2 separate regions of the Homo sapiens genome follow, and region 2 is linked to region 1. The links are contacts of gene promoters, found by promoter capture Hi-C in blood cells and fetal thymus (Javierre and others, 2016). All regions are on one chromosome and are shown on one strand. The core of a region is centred on a gene start or on the middle of the fragment in contact, and the rest is flanking DNA. Distances in the headings are between cores, read along the strand shown.

The links. Contacts are between HindIII fragments. The CHiCAGO score rates a contact against its expected background, and 5 or more counts as called.
Region 2: a contact is called between the fragment with the promoter of HSPA2 here and the fragment with the promoter of MTHFD1 in region 1, in 2 of 17 cell types (monocytes and naive CD4 T cells). The highest score is 5.0, in monocytes.

What each region holds. Positions count from the first base shown.
Region 1 is chr14:64,384,961-64,391,347 of GRCh38, forward strand. MTHFD1 (methylenetetrahydrofolate dehydrogenase, cyclohydrolase and formyltetrahydrofolate synthetase 1) reads left to right here and starts at 3,393. Exons shown (of 28, transcript NM_005956.4): 1 at 3,393-3,508. The coding sequence starts at 3,468. RefSeq lists enhancers at 2,456-2,555, 2,576-2,635, 3,156-3,245, 6,343-6,387. The HindIII fragment of the contact is 3,471 bases long and covers 2,710-6,180 here.
Region 2 is chr14:64,536,257-64,542,957 of GRCh38, forward strand. HSPA2 (heat shock protein family A (Hsp70) member 2) reads left to right here and starts at 4,485. Exons shown (of 1, transcript NM_021979.4): 1 at 4,485-6,701. The coding sequence starts at 4,594. The coding sequence ends at 6,513. It overlaps HSPA2-AS1 (HSPA2 and ZBTB1 antisense RNA 1), which reads right to left and starts at 4,112. Exons shown (of 4, transcript NR_110550.1): 1 at 4,061-4,112. RefSeq lists a silencer at 4,260-4,349 and an enhancer at 4,520-4,629. The HindIII fragment of the contact is 4,009 bases long and covers 2,504-6,512 here.

The sequences.
Region 1 (6,387 bases), core at 2,143-4,642:
GCCCAGCTAACTTTTTAAATTTTTATTTATTTATTTATTTTGAGATGGAGTCTCGCTCTGTCTCCCAGGCTGGAGTGCAGTGGCGTGATCTCGGCTCACTGCAACCTCTGCCTCCTAGGTTCAAGGGATTCTCCTGCCTCGGCCTCCCGAGTAGCTGGGATTACAGGTGCCAGCCATCACGCCCAGCTAATTTTTGTATTTTTAGTAGAGACGGGGTTTCACTGTGTTGGCCAAGTTGGTCTCAAACTCCTGACCTCAGCTGATCCACCCACCTCGGCCTCCAAAATGCTCGGATTACAGGCAAATTTTTTAATTTTTATTTTTGTAGAGACAGGGTCTTGCTATGTTGCTAAGGCTGTTCTACAAACTCCTGGATTCAAGTGATCTTCCTGTATTTGGTCTCCCAAAGTGCTGGGATTAGTAAAGGTGTAGCCACAGCTCCCAGCTGGACTCTCCTTTTCAATCTTCCCTCTTGGTTCCTCCTGTCTCCTTGCATTCTGAACACTGAAAGGTTCTAGGTGTCAGTCTTTGGTCCTCTCTCTACCTACAATACCCTTGGTTGGATCTCATTCAATCCCATGGATTTAAATATCTTCTCTCCATTTGGATGTCTAAGAGAAATCTAAAAATGTCTAAAGCCGAATTCATAATCTTAACCCCAAAACCTAGTCCTACATTTTACTTTATTTCAACTCAGCGAATGGCAATTCCATCTTTCCAGTTGCTCAGAGCAAATCCCTGCTTTCTTTCTTTTACATTCCAAGTTCCTCTCTTCATTAAGGTTTCTGCTGAAGTCAGATGCCCAAAGAAATCTCTTACCACATTTCTGAGACAAAACTTTCCCACCTCCCAGCATCACTGCCTATCCTCTTAGCTTGCCTATTTTTAAAATATAGCATGTCATAATCTCTAAAATTAGCCTATGTATTTCTTTAACTTGATCGTTGTCTCCTCCACCAGAATATGAGCTGAGAGCAGAAACTTTGCTGGTTCACTAGGGTATCTCTAGCATCTATAGCAGTGCTGTTGGCATAGTGGCCACTCAATAATTATTTGCTCCATGAATGAACGATTTATGCAACTCATACATAGATAACTGTCAAAAACCAGGCTGTTGAGATGGCAAAGGCAGTAGATTTAGAGAAGAAACATCAGGTTTGGGGCCTATACCAGCCACAGCTATGCAGCTTTGGGTATTATCCTTCAAAGTCTATCCCTCTGTAAAACGGGATTTCTGCCATCTTCCTCAACAAATAAGAAAGCTGGAATAGTCAATACCTATTTGATAGTATAAGACAAAAGATTCACTATCTGCAATTTACCAGAAACATTTCCTTCAATTTTCTTCTTAATTTCACTTGTTTAGGTACAACACAATATGAGACAATGTGTTTTAGGGTTATTATTATAATGACATTATATTACTAAGTCTGTGCCTTTAACATATCACTTGTGCAAACTTTAAGAATAGTAACTTTAAGGCCACGCACGGTGGCTCATGCCCATTATCCCAGCATTTTGGGAGGCCAAGGGAGACTAATCCCTTGAGATCTAGACCAGTCTGGTCAACATAGTGAAACCCCAACTCTACCAAAAATAGAAAAATTAGCCGGCGTGGTGGCATGCACCTGTGGTCCAAGCTACTCGGGGGGCTGAGGTGGGAGGATCATTTGAACCCGGGAGGCAGAGGCTACAAAGAGCGGAGATCATGCCACTGCACTCCACCCTGAGCGACATAGCGAGACTCCGTCTCAAAAACAAAAAAACATATATTAGAAATAATTACCAGAAATAGAAAATCACAAGAGATTATCTAATCCCGTATATGGGGCTACTATAAATAACCTCAGAATTTAGAAATAAGAAAAAAATATTAAAAGCCCCAAAATTAATAAAAAATCAGTTTTAGGCCAGGTGCGGTGGCTCACGCCTGTAATCCCAGCACTCTGGGAGGCCGAGGCGGGTGGATCACGAGGTCAGGAGTTCAAGACCAGCCTAGCCAAGATGGTGAAACCCCGTCTCTACTAAAAATACAAAAATTAGCCGGGCGTGGTGGCGGGCTAATTAGGTGGTGCCTGTAATCCCAGCTACTCGGGAGGCTGAGGCAGAGAACTGCTTGAACCCGGGAAGCGGAGGTTGCAGTGAGCCAAAATCGTGCCACTGCACTCCAGCCTGGGCGACAGAATGAGACTCCGTCTCAAACAAACAAACAAAAAAAGTTTTAGATGAGCTCTGCCAGTAGTAAACGGCTTGTAAAAGAAACCCGGTATCTGGTCAAGTCCTAAGTGACCTGAACCACGCATCTTCAGGACTCTACTGGGATGACTGTAACCTGAACGCGGTTCCTAGAGCAGAGCAAGCATATTCCTTGGACTCAGTAACACAAGGGGCCAGTCCTCTCCAGCATCCCAGCTGCCACCGCCCTGTCAGGCTCCCCAGGCAATTGTCCATCTTACTCCTTCTCCAGCGTGGACGCTTAAGGGGAGGGAGCATCCCTCCTCGAGGGTCAACTGGCATGTAGCTTACGAAGACCGCGTGAGTTCTCCAACCCCAGACTTGCTGCGGGGCGGGGACGTGGGGGTGACAAAATCCAGACTACGACCCTCCATGAGCCCTGGCAACCCCGGGGTGACCCCAACACCGATGAGGCCACGCGCGCTCCAGCTCTGACACTCCTTCCAGATCGGCGGGGCCTGAAACAGCGGGCTAAGCTTCACCTACGGCTGAGCGTCAGATTCAGCTGAGGAGATTCTAAAAGCGCTATGCTGGGCCCAGACCCAGGCCCTCCAGAGCAGAACGCGGAGGGGCCCGACCCCAGTCTGGTGGCGTAGGTGTGTGACAAAGTATGAGGGCGCGCCAAGCTCTCCAGTTCCACATCTGCTGTCGAGTCCAGCGCCTGCCACGCTCCCGTGCGGGGACCCGCCCAAAACTCCCTGGAAGCCAGGCGATTCAGACCCCGCCACCGCGTCCCCAGAGACTGGGCGGAAACCGGAGACTCGCCTCCCGAACCCGCGAAACTATCTCCCGCGAGACTGCCCCGCCCCAACCCCGCCCCGCAACTCTACTCCCTGATTGGCTGGAATTACGGCCGGATTCCGGAGTCCTTTCCAGCTCCCTCTTCGGCCGGGTTTCCCGCCGAATACAAAGGCGCACTGTGAACTGGCTCTTTCTTTCCGCCAATCATTTCCGCCAGCCATTCATCACCGATTTTCTTCATCTTCCCCTCCCTCTTCCGTCCCGCAGTCCCCGACCTGTTAGCTCTCGGTTAGTTAAGGGACTCGGGTCCTTCCGAACTGCGCATGCGCCACCGCGTCTGCAGGGGGAGAAGCGGGCAGGGGCGCAGGCGCAGTAGTGTGATCCCCTGGCCAGTCCCTAAGCACGTGGGTTGGGTTGTCCTGCTTGGCTGCGGAGGGAGTGGAACCTCGATATTGGTGGTGTCCATCGTGGGCAGCGGACTAATAAAGGCCATGGCGCCAGCAGAAATCCTGAACGGGAAGGAGATCTCCGCGTAAGCACCTGACATTGTTGTTGAGTGTGGGGCTGTGGACGAGGGCTCTGAGGGTGTGCAGGTCCCCCGGACCCATTTTTTGCGGGAGGGACACTTGTAGCGGAAGAGTTAGGCCCATAACACCTGAAGACCTGCAGCCAAAGAAAGAGAACCCGGGCACAACCTGCGTTTGCAAGTGGACTGCCTAGTGGCTGTAGCCGCTGGCTCCTGTGCTTCGGGGAAAAGTCCTGTGCCGACTATGCTCCCAAACGCGCAGCTGCTGGTGACTTTCTGCCGGGAGAGTGGGTAGTTGCGGCTTCCTGGAGCCCCCCTAGTCAGAACTCAGAAATCCAATCTACTTAATTCCCGTTAATTTGGAGGTGAGTAGATGGAGACTAGTGAGGTGACAAGGCTTGACAAGACTACAAGGCTGATAATGACAGAGGGTCCTTCCAGCTCATAGCTTTTCCCACTATACCATAGTCTTATCATACGCTAAGTGAAATCTAATACATTTTTCCTTTCTCTTCAATCTCGTGCTTCTCTCTAACAGCCATCTCTCTGCCCTGGTCCTAGAGTTACTTGAAACGTAATTTGGCTCCTGAGTCCTGAGAATATTCTGCATTCCACTTGACCTCTGCCTGTTCTACCCTTGCGGGACATCTGAATGCTTAATTAGTGGGTATCGTTGCCAGCTTTACTCCCAGGAAGTAACACTGGCTGCTTTTTGTCTGGGAGGTGACTGGTGAGGAAAAATGAGAGTAGAAGGAAGAGGGAAAAATATATTCCCTCTAGTAGATGAAGGAGGGAAAGATATATTCTGTGTGACCTTACTGAGTTTGCTCTTGGGACCTTTCACATCACCCGTTATGTAAGTAACTGTTGCCAGCCACAGCAGTTACTAAATTGTAATTGTCCTGTAACTCCTAACTTTGTAATAGGTTTTTGAGTGAATTACAAAGTCATCGGTGGTGAAAAGTCCGGGCCCAGTGGCTCATGCCTGTAATCCCAGCACTTTGGGAGGCCGAGGTGGGTGGATCACCTGAGGTCTGGAGTTCAAGACCAGCCTATCCAAAATGGTGAAACCCCATCTCTACTAAAAATACAAAAAATTAGCCGAGTGTGGTGGCAGGCATCTGTAATCCCAGCTACTTGGGAGGCTGAGGCAGGAGAATCACTTGAACCTGGGGGGCAGAGGTTGCAGTGAGCTGAGATGCGCCATTGCACTCCAGCCTGGGCAACAAGAGCGAAACTCCGTCTAAGAAAAAAAAAAAAAGAAATCACAATACTTACTGCTTAGTGCTTTTCAACATGTGGCTTGCTAAACTGTATTTCTGCTTTACTTTCTGTTTTTGTTTGCTTGTATTCAAACTTACTTCCTTTTCCAGTGGCTTTTTGTTTTAATATAAAAATCTTCCTTTTAGAAAGACTGATTGTGAAGAGATAATTTAGTGCATAATAATAGTGCAGATAATTTAGTACAATAATAATGCATCTGGGCCAGTACTGAGAATAGGTGCTCACTGAATATACTTTCGTTAATTGGAGAGCAAATTAAATATGTTTATCAACTCCATAAGGGCAAATACATGTATTGTCTTATTTTTGTCTATATCCTAAACACCTGGAAACCCTGTTTCCTGCCTTACTACTTGTGTGGTTTTAAGCAAATTAATTAACCTTTCTGTGCCAAAGTTTCCTCAAATGTTAAGTAAAAGTAATGTCTAGGTCATTGGGATGTTAGTAGAATTAAATGGGTTCCTAACAGATGATCATTTATAATTCTTCCTGGCACATAATAAGTATTCGATATATGTTGTATTAATAATCAGTAATTAGTTAATGTATATATGAATGATTCATTATCTTTTTTTTTTTTTACATGGTAGCTGCTGCCTTGAGATCTATTTTTTTTTTTGAGATGAAGTCTTGCTGTGTCCAATCTTGGCTCACTGCAACCTCTGCCTCCTGCATACAAGCAATTCTCTCATATCAGCCTCCTGAGTACCTGGGATTACAGGTGCCCGCCATCACGCCTAGCTAATTTTTTTTTTTGAGATGGAGTTTCACTCGTCGCCCAGACTGGAGTACAATGGCGTGATCTCGGCTCACTGCAACCTCTGCCTCCTGGGTTCAAGCGATTCTCCTGCCTCAGCCTCCCAAGTAGCTGGGATTACAGGCGTCCGCCACCATGTCCAGCTAGTTTGTTTGTTTGTTTGAGACAGAGTTTCACTCTTGTTGCCCAGGCTGGAGTGCAATGGCATGATCTTGGCTCACTGCAACCTCCACCTCCCAGGTTCAAGCGATTCTCCTGCCTCAGCCTCCCGAGTAGCTGAGACTACAGGTGTGTGCCACCCCGTCCGGCTAATTTTTGTATTTTTAGTAGAGACGGGCTTTCACCATGTTGGTCAGGCTGGTCTGTAACTCCTGACCCCATGTGATCCACCCACCTCGGCCTCCCAAAGTGCTGGGATTACAGGCATGAGCCACTGCACCGGTCCTAGAATTTCTTAAAAATCCAGCCCACTTCCCACATTCCATCCTGCGGATTAGGAAATCATTTGAGGCCAGAAAAGTGATGTGATTTGTCCAAGGGTGAATGGCAATGGCTCAACTAAAACTAAGGTCTTCACCCAGTATATGATGTTTTTCATTCTAACCAGCACTTACTACTTGCTAAAAGGAATTTCGTAAGCTTTTCTTTTTCTTTTCTTTCTTTCTTTCTTTTTATTTTTCAGACAAGGTCTTGCTCTGTTGCTCAGGCTGGAGTGCAATGGCACGATGTTGTCTCACTGTAACCTCCACTTCCTGGGTTCAAACGATTCTCCTGCCTCAGCCTCCCAGGTAGCTGGGACTACGGGCATGCACTACTATGCCCGGCTAATTTTTGAATTTTTAGT
Region 2 (6,701 bases), core at 3,235-5,734, 150 kb after region 1:
AAAAATCTTGTAAACCATTTTTACGGCTGCGTAAGAATTCATCATATGCATGTACTATAATTTAGGTAATCTCTTATTTTTGGATATTTAAACCATTTCCTTTCTATTATCATTAACATAAATAATACTACCTGCATTTTCTATTATTTCCTTAGAATAAATCCCACAATGAGTAATGCTAAATAAAAGGCATGATCATATTTAATGTAAAGAAAAAATATTGGCCAGGTGTGGTGGCTCACTACTGTAATCCCAGCACTTTGGGAGGCTGAGACTGGTGGAGAGCTTGAGCTAAGGAGTTCGAGACCAGACTGACCAACATGGCAAAACTCCATCTCTACAAAAATACAAAAATTAGCCGGGCTTGGTGGTGCATGCCTGTAGTCCTAACTACTCCGGAGGCTGAAGTGGGAGGATCGCTTGTGCAAGCTGTGAGCCTGCCACTGCATTCCAGCCTGGGTGACACAGCAAGTCCCTGTCTCTTAAAACAAACAAACAAATTTTTAAAAACCCAAAATACAAATACAGTGTCTTTTTTGGGAAAAGCTTAGGATGCCTCTTAAACTATGGAACATACAAAACACAAGTTAGGGCAGAAAAAAATATACATGGCTAATGAAAATGTGGGTATAATTGCTACTGTGGTTTCAGAAACCTGTGTTAAAGATGAATGTGGTGGTCAGATTGCAAGATGTGTTTGTAATATCTGGGCACAGAGGTAGCACAGTTATTGTGCAAAAGAAACTATTCCTCTGAAGCTCTAATTTTAGTGATTCTATGTGAGAACTCTGGCCTGCTTGCTCTTTTGCAATCTTGGTTTGCTTGAGGTGTGTTGAGGGCTGACTGAATGCAAGAGATTTAAAGAATTTGTGTTTCTCACATTCTTTGTTTCAGTTGTAGCTGAGACTGTATCTCTAAGTCATATATCATCAGTTCTACAAAGAATATGCATTGCTTCCAGCCCACTAATTCCCTTTTCTAAAAAAACAAAGAAAAGAAAAGAAAGAAAGAAAGAAAAAGAAGGAAAGAAAGAAAGAAAGAGAAAGAAAAGAAAAGAGAGAAGAAAAACTCAGGCCTGTAATCCCAGCACGTTGGGAGGCCAAGATGGGCAGACAATTTGAAGTCAGGGGTTCGAGAACAGCCTGGCAAACATGGTGAAACCCTGTCTCTACCAAAAATATAAAAATTAGATGGACGTGCTGGTGCACATAAGTAACCCAGCTATCTGGAAGGCTGAGGCACGACAATCTCTTGGACCAAGGAGGCAGAGGTTGCAGTGAGCCACTGCACTCCAGCCTGGCGACAGAACAAGACTCTGTCTCAAAAAAAACCAAACAAATACCCCCCACCCCCAAACTACACAAAAGACAAGAATTTCCAAGAATAAAATCAAGAGATCTGTACTCACAATTTATGACAGTTTCAATTAGAAAAGTCTGGGTTTTATCCTTGTTTTCCTAATATTTTCTTTTCTTTTTCTTTTTTTTTTTAGACAGAGTCTTGCTCTGTCGCCCAGGCTGGAGTGCAGTGGCGTGATCTCAGCTCACTGCAACCTCTGCCTCCCGGATTCAAGCAATCCTCTGCCTCAGCCTCCCAAGTAGCTGGGATTACAGGCGCCCACCACCAGGCCCGGCTAATTTTTGTATTTTTAGTAGAGACAGGGTTTCACCATCTTGGCCAGGCTGGTCTTGAACTTCTGACCTCGTGATCCACGCGCCTCGGCCTCCCAAAGTGCTGGGATTACAGGCATGAGCCACCGCGTCCAGCCTTTCTAATATTTTCTTTAAAACGTCCCCTTTTTCAAAATTTTTTCAAATTCATGGAAAAGAGGATAGGAATTATGGTTAAAATTAGTACTAACTGATGACATTAACCGATTAATAACCAATTATGTTCTTAAAAACTGGAAATGATATACACCACTAGATAAAATAATCTTAAATGTTCATTGACTTTATAGAATTCTCTCAACATTACTTTTTGGTCACAGATAACTTCTGGGTTGACAAAAGCTTTTCTCCAGCGCCATTTCATACAGCTTTTACATGGCTGCACATCACTAGCCTGCTTTAAAGGACGGTGCTCCCAGCCCAAAGCCTCAGGAAAAAGACCATGGCTCAAAAAGCTCTGAGATGTATCCTATCCACCTGAAGAGCCTATTGCTTGCCTGTATCCCTCCCTTCTAGTGACACTAATCTTCTGTACAGAAATCCTAGTCCAGCAAACATTGCTCTCATCTTCGCCCATACACAACCTATGTAAAGAATGGCTTTCCTACTCTTTGCTGGCGAACTTCAGCTCCCGGATTAGGCATGCCACCTCTTCCAGGTAGCTCTCAGCAACGCACTTTTCCATCAGCCTGGGTGTGCCCCTCTGTGTTCCCATGGCGCTTTGCTTTCAGCGCTTCTCCCAAATTATGTTTACCTGTTTATTAGACTCTCCACCTCTGAAGACCAGGCCATTTCATTTGGCTTTTTACTGCCACGTAGTAGGTACCTGTTCAAGCTTGATGGAAGGACTTCCCCAGCCTCCCCACACATATTATGTAAAGTGATCGCTGTCTTTGCTTCCTCCTGGAGACCATTTATTTTATTTTTTTGAGACGGAGTCTCGTTCTGTCGCCCAGGCTGGAGTGCAGTGTCGCAATCTCGACTGACTGCAACCTCTGCCTCTCGAGTAGCTGGGACTACAGGCGCGCGCCACCACGCCCGGCTAATTTTTGTATTTTTAGTAGAGACGGGGTTTCACCATGTTGGCCAGGCTGGCCTCGAACTTCTGACAGCAAGTGATCCACCTACCGCGGCCTTTCAAAGTGCTGAAACTACAGGCATGAGCCTCCACACCCGTCCAGGAGCCCATTTATATGGGAGCCTGCTTCTAAAGATTATTACCTGGTGCCAGGGTATTTTCCAGACCTGTCCTCACATTCCTGTTAAACAGGAGGAAGTGAATCGCGCTCCTTTTCATCTACCTTCTCGGAGGGTTTATGCCTCCAATATTAACCTCAGCACAGCCAAAGAAAATCATTCCATTCCATTGAGCGGAGTCAGAAACATGACTAGGTCACGATCACAACCCCGTGTGTGCCAGGGTGACCGAGACTGGGTGACTTTATGGTGTTTCAACGTGTGGGTTTTGACTGATTATATTATGGGTTTTCCAGTCAAAAACTCAAAGCAGTGGATAAAGCACTTGCGACCTAAAATAAGCAATGGAATGAACAGGAAGGCGAAACCAGAGTTTAAAGCGGCAGGACAAACAGGAAAAAGGAAGAGTGAGGCAGGAAGGGTTTAAATGCAGGCTCCTCGGAGGACAAGTCGCCGCCACACCCCTGTCTGCCGTCCCGCCAGCCGCCCTCACGCGGCGCGGGAAAACGGTCGGCCTCGCCCTGGGCTCAGGTTCTCTCCGCCCGCCAGGCAGTGGGGTTTTTTTTTGTTTTTTTTGAGACGGAGTCTCGCTCAGTCGCCCAGGCTGGAGTGTAGTGGCGTGATCTCGGCTCACTGCAACCTCCACCTCCCGGGTTCAAGCGATTCTCCTGCCTCAGCCTCCCGAGTAGCTGAGACTACAGGCACGCGCCACCACGCCCAGCTAATTTTTGTATCTTTAGTAGAGACGGGCTTTCACCATGTTGGCCAGGATGGTCTCGATGTCTTAACGTCGTGATCCGGCCGCCTCGGCCTCCCAAGTGCTGGGATTACAGGCGTTAGCCACTGCGCCCGGCCCCAGCCAGGCAGTTTTAATCGAGCGCTCACAACCACTGAGACGCAGTGAAGCACCCACCATAAAATCCCAGGAGGCCGACCGCCGGTTCAGACTTTTTCTTTTCTTTAATCCCCGTCCAAGGGATCCGCCCTCACCCCCCACCCCAGCCACCCCAATTCCCTATTCCCTCCCCTTGGACGGCGCCGGGGAAAACAAGCTGCTCGAGCTTTATTTCTTCGGTGCAACCAACTCAGAATGAATTCCTCCGCCCCTGCGTGCTCAGTGAGTCGGCACCCTAGCAGTGAACTGCATTTAAAACCTCAGGAATTGAGCGAACTCTCCCAGTGGCTCTCCTCACCGGGATCCCCTTCCACGCCTCCTCCCCGTGCCGCGCCTCAGTCCGCACTGCTCATTGGCCGCGTGCCCTGCCAATCCGATGCACGTCGGCTAGGGCAAAGACCGCGAAAAAGCGCGTACACCTGGCTCTGGGAGCGCGCGCCTAACGCCAGCCAGCAGCAGGAGGCGCGCGAGGCACCACGGCCTGGCGGCCGAGAGTCAGGGAGGAACCTCATTTACATAACGGCCGCCCCTCTGTCTCCTGGCGGGGGCCGGAGTCCCGCCCCTCGTCCAACTTGAAATCTGTTGGGTCACGGGCCAGTCACTCCGACCTAGGCAAGCCTGTGGTGGAGCTGGAAGAGTTTGTGAGGGCGGTCCCGGGAGCGGATTGGGTCTGGGAGTTCCCAGAGGCGGCTATAAGAACCGGGAACTGGGCGCGGGGAGCTGAGTTGCTGGTAGTGCCCGTGGTGCTTGGTTCGAGGTGGCCGTTAGTTGACTCCGCGGAGTTCATCTCCCTGGTTTTCCCGTCCTAACGTCGCTCGCCTTTCAGTCAGGATGTCTGCCCGTGGCCCGGCTATCGGCATCGACCTGGGCACCACCTATTCGTGCGTCGGGGTCTTCCAACATGGCAAGGTGGAGATCATCGCCAACGACCAGGGCAATCGCACCACCCCCAGCTACGTGGCCTTCACGGACACCGAGCGCCTCATCGGCGACGCCGCCAAGAACCAGGTGGCCATGAACCCCACCAACACCATCTTCGACGCCAAGAGGCTGATTGGACGGAAATTCGAGGATGCCACAGTGCAGTCGGATATGAAACACTGGCCGTTCCGGGTGGTGAGCGAGGGAGGCAAGCCCAAAGTGCAAGTAGAGTACAAGGGGGAGACCAAGACCTTCTTCCCAGAGGAGATATCCTCCATGGTCCTCACGAAGATGAAGGAGATCGCGGAAGCCTACCTGGGGGGCAAGGTGCACAGCGCGGTCATAACGGTCCCGGCCTATTTCAACGACTCGCAGCGCCAGGCCACCAAGGACGCAGGCACCATCACGGGGCTCAATGTGCTGCGCATCATCAACGAGCCCACGGCGGCGGCCATCGCCTACGGCCTGGACAAGAAGGGCTGCGCGGGCGGCGAGAAGAACGTGCTCATCTTTGACCTGGGCGGTGGCACTTTCGACGTGTCCATCCTGACCATCGAGGATGGCATCTTCGAGGTGAAGTCCACGGCCGGCGACACCCACCTGGGCGGTGAGGACTTCGACAACCGCATGGTGAGCCACCTGGCGGAGGAGTTCAAGCGCAAGCACAAGAAGGACATTGGGCCCAACAAGCGCGCCGTGAGGCGGCTGCGCACCGCTTGCGAGCGCGCCAAGCGCACCCTGAGCTCGTCCACGCAGGCGAGCATCGAGATCGACTCGCTCTACGAGGGCGTGGACTTCTATACGTCCATCACGCGCGCCCGCTTCGAGGAGCTCAATGCCGACCTCTTTCGCGGGACCCTGGAGCCGGTGGAGAAGGCGCTGCGCGACGCCAAGCTGGACAAGGGCCAGATCCAGGAGATCGTGCTGGTGGGCGGCTCCACTCGTATCCCCAAGATCCAGAAGCTGCTGCAGGATTTCTTCAACGGCAAGGAGCTGAACAAGAGCATCAACCCCGACGAGGCGGTGGCCTATGGCGCCGCGGTGCAGGCGGCCATCCTCATCGGCGACAAATCAGAGAATGTGCAGGACCTGCTGCTACTCGACGTGACCCCGTTGTCGCTGGGCATCGAGACAGCTGGCGGTGTCATGACCCCACTCATCAAGAGGAACACCACGATCCCCACCAAGCAGACGCAGACCTTCACCACCTACTCGGACAACCAGAGCAGCGTACTGGTGCAGGTATACGAGGGCGAACGGGCCATGACCAAGGACAATAACCTGCTGGGCAAGTTCGACCTGACCGGGATTCCCCCTGCGCCTCGCGGGGTCCCCCAAATCGAGGTTACCTTCGACATTGACGCCAATGGCATCCTTAACGTTACCGCCGCCGACAAGAGCACCGGTAAGGAAAACAAAATCACCATCACCAATGACAAAGGTCGTCTGAGCAAGGACGACATTGACCGGATGGTGCAGGAGGCGGAGCGGTACAAATCGGAAGATGAGGCGAATCGCGACCGAGTCGCGGCCAAAAACGCCCTGGAGTCCTATACCTACAACATCAAGCAGACGGTGGAAGACGAGAAACTGAGGGGCAAGATTAGCGAGCAGGACAAAAACAAGATCCTCGACAAGTGTCAGGAGGTGATCAACTGGCTCGACCGAAACCAGATGGCAGAGAAAGATGAGTATGAACACAAGCAGAAAGAGCTCGAAAGAGTTTGCAACCCCATCATCAGCAAACTTTACCAAGGTGGTCCTGGCGGCGGCAGCGGCGGCGGCGGTTCAGGAGCCTCCGGGGGACCCACCATCGAAGAAGTGGACTAAGCTTGCACTCAAGTCAGCGTAAACCTCTTTGCCTTTCTCTCTCTCTCTTTTTTTTTGTTTGTTTCTTTGAAATGTCCTTGTGCCAAGTACGAGATCTATTGTTGGAAGTCTTTGGTATATGCAAATGAAAGGAGAGGTGCAACAACTTAGTTTAATTATAAAAGTTCCAAAGTTTGTTTTTTAAAAAC